4 separate regions of the Homo sapiens genome follow, and regions 1, 2 and 4 are each linked to region 3. Evidence: promoter capture Hi-C in 16 types of primary human blood cells and fetal thymus (Javierre and others, 2016). All regions are on one chromosome and are shown on one strand. Each heading gives the region's core, a stretch centred on a gene start or on the middle of the fragment in contact. The rest is flanking DNA. Distances are from core to core; before and after follow the strand shown.

Region 1 (2,700 bases), core at 11-2,510, 89 kb after region 3:
TGAGAAGTAGGTTCCCACGATCCCACCACACAGTCTAGGAAATCTGACAGCAAGTCATAAAGCTGTTTAGTTCAAGTGACGCCTGCATCCTCCTCCCAGACCCAGAGCCCCTCCTCTCTACCAGGGGGAACCGCCACCTTGCAGGTGGTATTTTCAATTCCATGCTTGCTGTCTGTAGTGCAGCCATACAACTGACTATTTTACACACATAGTTCTCAAACTTTTTTGGTCAAGAGAACCCCTTTACACTCAATTATTGAGGATGCCAAAAAGCTTCTGTTTTATGTAGGTTAAGTCTATCCATATTCACCTTATTTGAAATTAAAACTAATAATTTTTTAAAACACAAGAATATACAAGCAGACATTTCATTAGCTGCCACAGTGATGATGTCAAAACATCACATAGCTCTGGAAAATTCCACCATGAATTCATGAGACAAGAGCTGAAATGGCAAATGATGTCTTAGTAATATTATAAATACAGTTCTGATCTACAGACTCCTAGGAGGGTCAATCTCTGGAGTACATTTTGAGAACTGCTGCATTACAGCAATGAAAGACAATGAATTAGCTCTCTGCATATTAACATGGGAAACCCAAATGGTGACTGAGCCCCATTTTTGAGAGTGTTAGAATTAAAGAAAGGCTTTGGGTAAATAAAGTCTACATTCAGTGTTAAACCCTGACACCTTCTTTTCTATCCAAATTGGTTGCCCACATCATGGGCAATCAAGACGTTTGCCTTTTCTCCTTGGATGTCACCCTCTCAGATGCCTGGACAGCTGGTCTCCATTACTCTGTGAAGTCTGGTGCAATCTGGAAAAACACTCCAACCAACTGTTGGGGGAGTCTGACATTCCTAGACTGACCCTGTCTCATATGCATCTCCCATACTCTTTCAAGGCCACCGGCGTAGCCCTTTCTTTGGGGAGCCATCTGACAGCCACGTGGACGTTAAGGCTACTCAAACCTCAAAAACATTTATATATTTTGCTCTGTGTCTTCATCTCAAAATTTGTGTCCCCAGAGTCTGTGACTCTGATCACTTGTGAAGTGGAACAGGTTTTAGCACAGCCTTGGGACAACTGTAGAGGCCTGGCTTGGGCCAAGGATTGGGACAGTATGTTCAGCTCCAAGGATGAATCAACAGCCTGGGAATGAAGACCCCGGCTCTGCCCTTACAAACACCCCTGAAGACACAAGTAGCCACTTGGACTCTGTGCTATTTACTAGGCACAGGGACAAACATGAATGCATAACACAAGCGTCCTGCTCTGAAAGAGCTCTAGGCTGGTAGGAGAGATCCTGAGCCGACAGAGCATCGACAAGAGATACGCACGCAGGCACGGGGTGCTACAGGACAGACGAGGTCTCTTTTGTCTCTTGTGGTATTAACAGCACAGAATGACGGAGACTGCAAAATAGAGATCAGGAGGGCCTCGATTCTACCCTTGACTCTGCAAATTGGGACAAGTTTAGCTTTGAGAAGTTAAAGCTGAGAGGGCAGATTTTGATCCTCTCAGAGATCAAAAGCTCCGTCAAGTGACAACAATGTGACCTGGAATACGATACTTTGTAGGCCCTTGTTTTCTTTTCTTTTTGAGGTAGGGTCTTGCTCTGTCACCAGGGTGGAGTGCAGTAGTGTGATCACAGCTCACTGCAGGCTTGAACTGCTGGGCTCAAGCAATCCTCCCACCTCAGCCTCCTGAGAAGTTGGGACTATAGGCTTCAGGCATGCACTATCACATCTGGCTAATTTTCATTTTTTAATTTTATTTTCTTTCTTTCTTTTTTTTTTTTTTTTTAAGAGAGGAGGTCTTACTATGATGCCTAGGCTGGTCTTGAACTCCTCAGCTCAGGTGATCTACCTGCGTTGGCCTCTCAAAGTGTTGGGATTACAGGAGTGAGCCACCATACCCGGCCAACCCTTGTTTTCTTATCTGTAAAGTGGCAATAGTGATACCAGACCTCAAAGGATGAGAATTAAATAGTATGTATATCATGTAACTAGCGTAATGGTTGGTGTATAACACTGAGAAAAGCTGAGCTGTTGTTATTTTCCTCCTCTGTGGGTTCAGTTACCAAAGCAAAGCCATTGGACTACACTAGTTCTCATCCATTTTCTGCCCCAGCCCACCTGAGTATCGTAACATTCTCATGAGAATAACCTAGAATCTCCAGAGGAATGTTTCTCAACTAGAGGCACATGGGATTCTTTGAGACAGAGGAAGGCAGAGAAGCTTCAGAAGCTCTCCAAATGATTTGGCTACAGGTCTCTAGGGAAGTGCGGGTTCCCATGGAGAGTGAACGGACTACGTGATCTCTGAGGGCTTGTTCAATTGCCTCTGGGACTCTCTGACTTGCCCGTGAGGACTGGAAATACCTGTGAGAAAGGAAACACCAGGTGTTCCTGGAGACTCCTCCAAACCCTCACACAAAGGCGTACAATTAGGTGCGAAGGATTGTAAGCTGAACCCCGGCTGTGCGAGACTTCTTATATCTTTACAGCTTCAAGATGTGCAGCACAGTGGAATAAACAGTAATGACTGTGCCCAAGCAGCCACAGCTCCTTCACTACCTGACAGCAAGTGAAATGTCTGTTTTTCTGGTCTCTTCTCTAACATGCCACACCAGGAAGCTCCACTGAGTAGCAACTTTGGTAGCACAGGAATCTTTAGGACCATATATCAAAGTAGTT
Region 2 (2,700 bases), core at 68-2,567, 70 kb before region 3:
GGTGCAGTGGCTCACACCTGTAATCCCAGCTCTTTGGGAGGCCAAGGTGGGTGGATCACTTGAGGCCAGAAGATTGAGACAAGTCTGGCCAACATGGCGAAACCCCGTCTCTACTAAAAATACAAAAAAATTAGCTGGGCGTGGTGACACATGCCTGTAGTCCCAGCTACTTGGGAGGCTGAGGCAGGAGAATCGCTCATACCCGAGAGATAGAGGTTGTGGTGAGCCAAAATCACGCCCCTGCATTCCAGCCTGGGCGACAGAATGAGACCCTGTCTCAAAAATAAATAAATAAAACGAATAAAAATATCAGTCTTCAGGAGTTATAGAAATCTGTAAGGGTAAGTAAAATACTTGAATCAGGTGTGCAAATTAAGGAAGAGGGCACAGTGTTTGTACTCTCCAGGACTGGTTCTGTTTCCTTCTTACCCTTGTTCATAGGTGAACTGGCCTGCCCACTCACATCTTAGCATCTGTGTTTGTTCTTTGCATTTAGGCACTGCTGACTTCAGGACTAATGCTTATAGACAGGACCCAGTGTTCACTTAGTTTCTTAGGGTAGATGAGGACACATTGCTAGCCAGACCTTTTTTTTTTCTTCTTCTTCTTCTTCTTCTTTTTTTTTTTTTAAGAGATTTGGTATATTAGTGATAAGCTTTTAAAATCTGAGCCTCCAGAACCTGATGTGTTTGCCTCCTAGGTATCTCTCAAACCCAACTCTTCTCCATGCCTGTGACTGCTGTCCTCACACGGGCTCTGGCTCTCTCCCCTCACCTCTGCTGACCAGCTGCTCTAACTGCCTCCAGTCTTCCTTCCCCAAGGCACTCCTGGATTTTCCTAGCATTAGCATGTAACCGTATCACTGCCCTGATCAAAGTCTTCAGGGGCTTCCCAGGGCTTCAGCTCCTCAGCAAGGCATTCCCAAGCCTTCCAGCCTTATTCCCCGTCCTTCCTATTACCTCGAGGTGTGTGGACCATGACAGTTCCTATCTTTGTTTTCAGAGCGATCTTTTCCTCTGCCTAAAATATCCTTTCCCACCTTCTTCAACTTTATACTTCTTCCAGGACAGCCTGGATGACCTCTCTAGGACACTTTCCTTGGAAGGGTGTTTCCATAGCACTCTCCCCAAATTGTTGTCATTGTACTTACATTATAATACGTGTGTCCTTACATTTTAATACATGTGTCCGTTAATGTTTTTATTTTCCCACAAAAGCACACGAGGTTCTTCGAGGGCAGGGATGGGTGTCTCATTTGCCTCTTATTTCCAGAGGGAAAAGAGTCAGCCCAGTCTGGACACACGGTGGGCCCTATGTGAACAGAGATACCTGCTGATGCTACTGCCTCTGCCCTCCTTCACCACCTATTGCCTGTAGGGTAGTCCAGAATCCTTAGCTGGGCTTTAAGCAAACATGGTATGGCAAAGAAAAAAGACCTGATTTGAATATTTATTGACTATTTAGTCCATTGACTAGCTAAATGATCTTAGAGGAGTTTCTGAATCTCTCTGGGCCAATTTCTTCATCTGTAAAAAAGGAATATTACTGTTCAATATTGTTATAAAGTGTGATTGAAATAACGTACAACACTCCTGGCATGTAATAGGTGCTAAATACATTTCCTCATCTCTTACTGTTTTTCTCCCTCCCCCCTGCACTATTCTGAGCAGCCTCCACCTGCCACACACACACACACACACACACACGCACACACTGAAGTCACAGACGCTTCGTTGTTGGTGAATACATCCCTCCATTTTTCATCCCTCCACTAAGGGATGCCTTCTTCACATCCACCTGCCTCTCTACTCTGTTCAGATCCTGCCTGAACTAAAGGCTTGCCCAGATCCTGCAGTTAAAAGGAATTTCTTCTCATTCCTTTCCTGCTCTATTTCCCTATAGCATGTAATATTTCTAACTTAATAGTCAGCTGTCTTATTTTAATCACTTGAAGATAGTTAACTGGGTTGGAAGCTTCTGGGGGAAAGGATGTTTCTTCTGCATTTTTGTAGCTCACTGTGGTTCTGAGCACTCTGGGTCTGGAACATGTGAAGTGTTAAATAAATGGTTGTTCACTGTAGCCCGGAGAGTTGGGGATGATGGGAAGATGCTTCTCAACCTGGCTAAACAGTGTCTTCACAGTCTTAAAGGAATCAGACTCTCTGGGAACTCAGTTTTAGCTTACTTGTCCTTAAGACTTTTGAGTGTTATTAATCTCTATGATATCTGGCAATTAGACATAATTCTAGAAAATCCATTTCAAACACAATGAAAAATCAGTCTTGGACTTCGTTTATAATGTGATGAAGGTAAGGAAATTGCTTGCCCCAAACTACATGAAAGTGATATATATTTCTAATTATGTTCTCAAAGGGATATTCCAAAAGGAGTTAGTGCTGCGGAAATCCTTGAAGTAGACTGTGTTTTGGGAAAATCATTTCGACAAGCTCAGATTCAGCGTCCATAGAAAACAACGATTTCCAGTCTTATTGATTGATGTATTAAGCCAGTCGTTAGCAGGGAACAGTGTGCAATCTGTGTTACAGGTAGTTAGGGATGTTTTATAGACGTGCTCACACATACCTCTTCTAGCCATTAAGTAGTAATTTCCCTTGGACTCTGCTTATCCCTTTTTTTCTTCAAACCTTTAAACTCTAGATGCAAAGCTTCCTAGATGGAGAATAGAACTGTTCCACTTCT
Region 3 (2,700 bases), core at 140-2,639:
TGGCTGGTGGGATGACTTCTGAGGACCCTTCTGGCTGGGAACAGAGCAGGCTGCCCTGGGAGCAATGAGTCTTCTCCCAAGGGTGCAAGCTGGGCCGGGAGGCCTCCTGGGTGTGGCAAGGGGTGATGGCCATGGTGGCATGTGGGTCCCCCTGCTGATGGAAAATCTGGCCTCTGTGTCCACCTTTCCCATGGCTAATTCAGGGGATGGTGGCTGGCGGCTGCAGGACACCCATGCCTTCCTTCCTGGCTCACTCAGGACTGCCTTTGGCCCTGAGCTAAGGAAGGCCTGCCAAGTGTACCAAACCCCGGGCCATGGACTTCCATGGGACGCACAGAAGCACGCCCTCACTATGTGCGAGCCTGTGGCAGCGCTGGCTGATGTGTCAGTCAGCTCCCAGGCAACTGCCAGCCGAGGCCAGGCTCTGGCCCACAGGCACAGCAGGTCCACCCTCCAAAACTCCAAGGGAGTGGGAGAAGGAACAGAGGCATCACTGAGAGGGTGAAGATGAGGGGCCCTGTGCCCTTACCTCCCCAAAACTAGACTTTCCATTTGAGAACATTCAGGTTCTGCCTTGTTTCCAAGCGTTTGCATCTGCTGTTCCCCCTAGCACCAATGCCTTTCCCTTTTCTAGCTGTTGAACTCCTACCCACCCCTCAAGGCCCAATGCAAAAGTTCCTTCTATTGGATCCTAGCTGCTTCAGGGCCTACCTGTGTCATGGCACGTATCACCCTGAATCATAACAGCCACTTCTGTACCTGTGTCCCCATCCAGAACTCAAGTTCCCTGAAGGCAGGAGTGGGTCTGACTCATCCCTGTGAGGTTGCTGCAGACGCATTATCTCCCCTTTGCATTATTGGTGAAAGGGCCGGGTGGAGGAAGGGAGGATTGCTGCACCAACCTTTCCTCGGCGCCTGTTTACTGGCACCGTCGCATCCATTCCACGCCGATCCTCCGCAGTCCCCCTATCCTGCCAGCCGCTCCTCCTTGGGGCAGGGGCGGCGCGAGCCACAGGGGCGTGCCCGCGAGCGGGTCGGGGCTGCGGAGAGAACGGGCCGGGGTAAAAACCCGACGGCTGCCCGCGGGTGGGCGGGGCGCGCAGAGCCGGTGGGAGGCCGCGGTGGCAGCAGTCGCCCCCGCGCATCGAGGGACCCAGGGACTCGCGCAGATGGCACGCGGCCACCTCGGTCCTGCCGGGGAGCCCCATTTCCAACCGAGGCAACTGAGGTTCCCAAAGCGCCAGCTACCCGCCGGGGTCTGGAGAGCGCCGGGGCCCGGCCGCCCCGCCCAGCCAGAGGTGCCCCGCCCCAAGCCTGGCGCACCTGGCCCCGCCCCGCCGGGACCCCGCCCCCGCCCTAATCAGAGCTGGTTCCGCGCCGCGGCCGCCGCGACAGGTGCAGCAGAGCCGAGCCGGCCGCGCTCCGAACGGCGCCTCCCGCCCCACCATGGGCAACAGCGCGAGCCGCAGCGACTTCGAGTGGGTCTACACCGACCAGCCGCACACGCAGCGGCGCAAGGAGATACTGGGTGAGCGCCGCGCGGGGCCCACCCCGGTGGGGACCGCCCCGTTGGCCCGTCTGGAGTCGCGTCGTGGGGTCGAGCCCAGACGGGCCGCTCCAGCTCTGGCCCAAATTCCAGTGGGCGTTCCGCCATTGCCGCTCCCCTCCCTGGGGTCCCCGGCCGGCTCCCCGAGGGTCCCCCACCCTGGCCGGGTCTGAAACTCCCTGGGACCTGAGGATTCCGAGGACCCCAGTACGGGTCCGAGCGCCAGGGAGCGCGTCCCAGCTGTTCCTCGCGAGCCACTCCCGGGGCCAGGGCCGGGGCTCTGGGATGCTGGGACGCGAGGGCGCAGGGGCGGCCCCGGGACGCGCTACGAGGCGCACGCGCTCCCTGGCGCGGAGGCAGCTTGCGCGACGCGGGGCCTCCACCCGCAGTCACTGGGCGCCTGCTGCGCTCAGAGCCCCTGGGTCTCGCGGCCACGGGCGCCCCAGGCTGGAGTTCAGGGCGGATGAGCGCCGGGAAGGGAGCAAACGCGAATGAGAGGCGCGCGTGTTTTCTTTGAAAAAAGCAAAGATTGTACTAAAGAATCCTTCTATTCTGGCATGTCGCTTATTACGTGGTGGCTGTTTTCCTTGTTGCTTCGTGTCCTCTGCGAGGAGGGCATCTTTACCCACTCGGAGTCACTCTCGTTCATGCCAGAGGCCCCATCCCACCCACAAGCAAGGTGGCCCCGGTGAGTCGTCCTTGGCCCGGGCTTACGGGGTTAAAGGGCCTGCGTCTGGAGAGTGGCTTTTGCCAGATGCCACCAAATCGCCACAGGCTGAGACAGGCCCGCCCCTCCCGCCCTGCCTAAGTCAGCACCGCGCGTTGCCACACTTTGTAATCTTCAGTCAGATTGGGGAAACAATACCATTTCACTGTGGCTTTAATTTGCACTTATTTGATGGAGGTTTCACATTTTAATCGGGCGTTTTATTTAATTTAATTAATTTATTTATTTAGAGACAGAGTCTCGCGATCTCGGCTCACTGCGACCCCCGCCTCCCAGGTTCAAGCGATTCTCCTGCCTCAGCCTTCTGAGTAGCTGGGATTACAGGCACCTGCCACCACACCCGGCTAATTTTTGTATTTGTAGTGAGATGGAGTTTCACCATGTTGGCTAGGCGCGATCTTAGCTCACTGCAACCTCTCCCCACTGG
Region 4 (2,700 bases), core at 160-2,659, 120 kb before region 3:
AAAGCCAGGACTGGGCTCTGAGGGTCGGCGGGACTGGATTTTTCGGTAGGAAGTAGGGAACCGCTGCAGTTCAAATCACGTGCTGAGACCCTGTTAGCAGAAAGGCCGTGTGGGGAGGTCAGCAAGGACCGAGGGGAACGGTCACAATGGCGGGCAGTCGGGGAGCCCTGAGGACCCTTCCAAGGCCAGGAGGCACCACTGCGCCAGAACAGAAAGGGCCGCACACCAGGGAGGCCGATGCACTGCTCCATAAACAAGGGCCAGGGCTTTTTTGAAAGGGGACTGGAGGAGAATTCAAGCTAAGGAGCCAGTGGCAAGCAGAGTACCTTGGAAGCCAGGCAGGCTTGGGCTTTGAATTCTGGCTGCCTGGACTTTGCAAATAAATCTGAGCCTGTTCCTCTCTTACAGCATGGTGATATTGCTAGCTAATTCATCAAAGGGTGGTTTGGAGGAGGCCACTGGGTACATATGTGTTCTCAACAAATGTTATGGGCTGCGCATGGTGGCTCACGGTAATCGTAGCTACTCGGGAGGCCAAGGCAGGAGGACCACTGGAGTCCAGGAATTCAAGGCAGCAGTGAGCTATGGTCGTGCCACTGCACTCCGGCCTAGGTGATAGCAAGACCCTGTCTCTTACCAAAAAATAAATAAATAAATAAAATAAAAAATTATAGCCAGGCAGAGACACCGGCAAGTATAAAGGAGAGATACTGGTTTCATCTGTATCTAGGGGTTTCTAAAGAAAGCAATTCCAGGCCAGGCACGGTGGTTCACGCCTGAAATCCCAGCACTTTGGGAGGCCGAGGCGGGTGGATTGTGAGGTCAGAAGTTTAACACCAGCCTGGCCAACATAGTGAAACCCCCATCTCTACTAAAAATACAAAATTAGCCGGGCATGGTGGCACACACAACCTCCTGCTATTCAGGAAGCTGAGGCAGGAGAACCGCTTGAACCCGGGAGGCAGAGGTTGCAGTGAGCTGAGATTGCGCGCCACTGCACTCCAGCCTGGGAGACACAGCAATACTCCATCTAAAAAAAAAAAAAAAAAAAGCAATTCCAAAGCTTTAGTTCCTTCCCATGTAAAATCTACAGGTTTTCCACCGTCTTGCTCAGCTCAGCCCTACTTAGGGCCTTCACTCAGCAGTTCTGGGCTTGCACAGGCCTGCGACTTGCCACCTCAGTAGCATTCTGTCAGCAGCCCCTTCTGTCACTAGCAAAAAGGGAAAGTCACATGTATTCAAGTAATAATGAACTTCACGCCTCACTCTGAACCTTGCTCTGCAGAACATCAGACACCAAGGCCCCAACCAGAGGGAGGAAGCTCTGCTCTGCATTTTGCTTTTGGCTAAATCCTAAGTAGCTCTCAGTGTATTTGGTCAAGTTCTTCCGAGTCCATCCCAGTTAGCTCCGGAGCTTCCAGGGCTGACATGGGCTCATAGGTCCGGCTGCGTGGGCATTTCACTGGGCTGTGCTTTCTGAACAGTGGGTGAGGCTCTCTTTAAAACGCCCTCTTGCTCCTGAGCCCACCTTGGAGCTGAAAGGTTACAGAAGCATTTCTTGCTGGTGTGAGACCAAATCCTGGGAGTTCCCAGTCCTGTGTGTGAGAAAGCAAGCCGCAAGAACTGCCCCGGGCAGTTTAGGCAACTCTTAGACCAGGAAGGGCTCATGGCCTGGTTTCATGTGCAGTGAAACACTAAAGAAGTGGCTTAGAGGACTGAGGAACAAACAAGAACCACAGGCATTAAAAAGCTTAACATTATGCATTTATTATATTGTATAGAGCCATATTACACATGCTTGGTGCTTCAAACTGAGTTATCAATGTTTTTCTGGATGCAAAGCCATCTGATGCTGGATGCGGATGCCTTAAATACTATATTTCTGCATCTATGACCTATGAGCTAAGGAAAAACCAAGGACAATTCCAGAAATGGCAAAGAACACTTAAGAAAAAGATGTACATGAGACGAAATGCTAAGTCCTTGAGCCAGGGCCTACAGAAGTTACCAGAAAGCGAATAAAAACATAATTTTTCTCACCACCTGTTGATAATAGAGCCTCACATGTCCGGGTATGGACAATGTAGAAAAAAGAGGTTGTTCCGTTTGGTACTGATGCCTTTCTCCCCTCCGTGATGTGTGCGGACATTGTGCGGCCCCCAGAGAGAGCAGCAGACAGAACAGAGCACAGCAAACTGCCCCCTCCTCAACACATCCCAGTGCTGTTTTTTTTTTTTACAGCATCTGGGTGTCTCATGAAAAGCGGTCAATTTGATCAAACTTGCCACCTTGTGGAAAATCAATCAGTGTGCTTCAGATGAATGTGACGCCATCACACGCACCCTCCTCTGACATCCAGAATGCTGGCGGGGGACATGGGGCTGGGTGCCTGCTCGGCCAGGACGAAGCTCTCCATGTGTCACCTCCCACCTTACGGCACCCAGTTTGTGGGAGGTTTGCTTTGCCTGCTGACCTGATGCTAACGCTCAGCTTAAACGCTCCATTCCAGATTTTACAAGGGGACTGGGTGATAACGTGTCAAGTACATGCTGCCCATACTTCCCATCAAGCCTCAGTACAGTCCCAGCTTAAAGATCCTCTCTGGCACCACACTGATCCCTTGGGCCTGGGGGTGGATGCCAGGAAGCCTCTTGGCCACAAATCTGCCCTCTTGTGGGTCAGAGGCCAGCCCTCTCTTGC

The links. Contacts are between HindIII fragments. The CHiCAGO score rates a contact against its expected background, and 5 or more counts as called.
Region 1: a contact is called between a fragment that was not itself captured here and the fragment with the promoter of DEGS2 in region 3, in 7 of 17 cell types (total B cells, erythroblasts, megakaryocytes and 4 more). The highest score is 12.6, in total B cells.
Region 2: a contact is called between a fragment that was not itself captured here and the fragment with the promoter of DEGS2 in region 3, in 1 of 17 cell types (total B cells). The highest score is 5.4, in total B cells.
Region 4: a contact is called between a fragment that was not itself captured here and the fragment with the promoter of DEGS2 in region 3, in 1 of 17 cell types (total B cells). The highest score is 5.5, in total B cells.

The regions. Positions count from the first base shown.
Region 1 is chr14:100,069,170-100,071,869 of GRCh38, reverse strand. All of the region lies in intron 1 of EVL (Enah/Vasp-like), which reads right to left. Among named protein-coding and RNA genes, the nearest start is that of EVL, 5.1 kb to the right of the region's middle. RefSeq lists enhancers at 2,643-2,692, 2,298-2,700. The HindIII fragment of the contact is 1,969 bases long and covers 276-2,244 here.
Region 2 is chr14:100,228,689-100,231,388 of GRCh38, reverse strand. The region is part of intron 1 of YY1-DT (YY1 divergent transcript); the gene reads left to right. Among named protein-coding and RNA genes, the nearest start is that of YY1-DT, 8.6 kb to the left of the region's middle. The HindIII fragment of the contact is 1,319 bases long and covers 658-1,976 here.
Region 3 is chr14:100,158,334-100,161,033 of GRCh38, reverse strand. DEGS2 (delta 4-desaturase, sphingolipid 2) reads left to right here and starts at 1,389. Exons shown (of 3, transcript NM_206918.3): 1 at 1,389-1,528. The coding sequence starts at 1,447. It overlaps LOC124903380 (a long non-coding RNA gene), which reads right to left and starts at 997. Exons shown (of 2, transcript XR_007064330.1): 1 at 903-997. RefSeq lists silencers at 1,043-1,442, 1,543-1,602. The HindIII fragment of the contact is 5,862 bases long and covers 1-2,700 here.
Region 4 is chr14:100,281,835-100,284,534 of GRCh38, reverse strand. YY1 (YY1 transcription factor) reads right to left here. Exons shown (of 5, transcript NM_003403.5): 5 at 1,747-2,700. It also overlaps a transcript of SLC25A29 not described here. Among named protein-coding and RNA genes, the nearest start is that of MIR6764, 5.8 kb to the right of the region's middle. The HindIII fragment of the contact is 687 bases long and covers 1,066-1,752 here.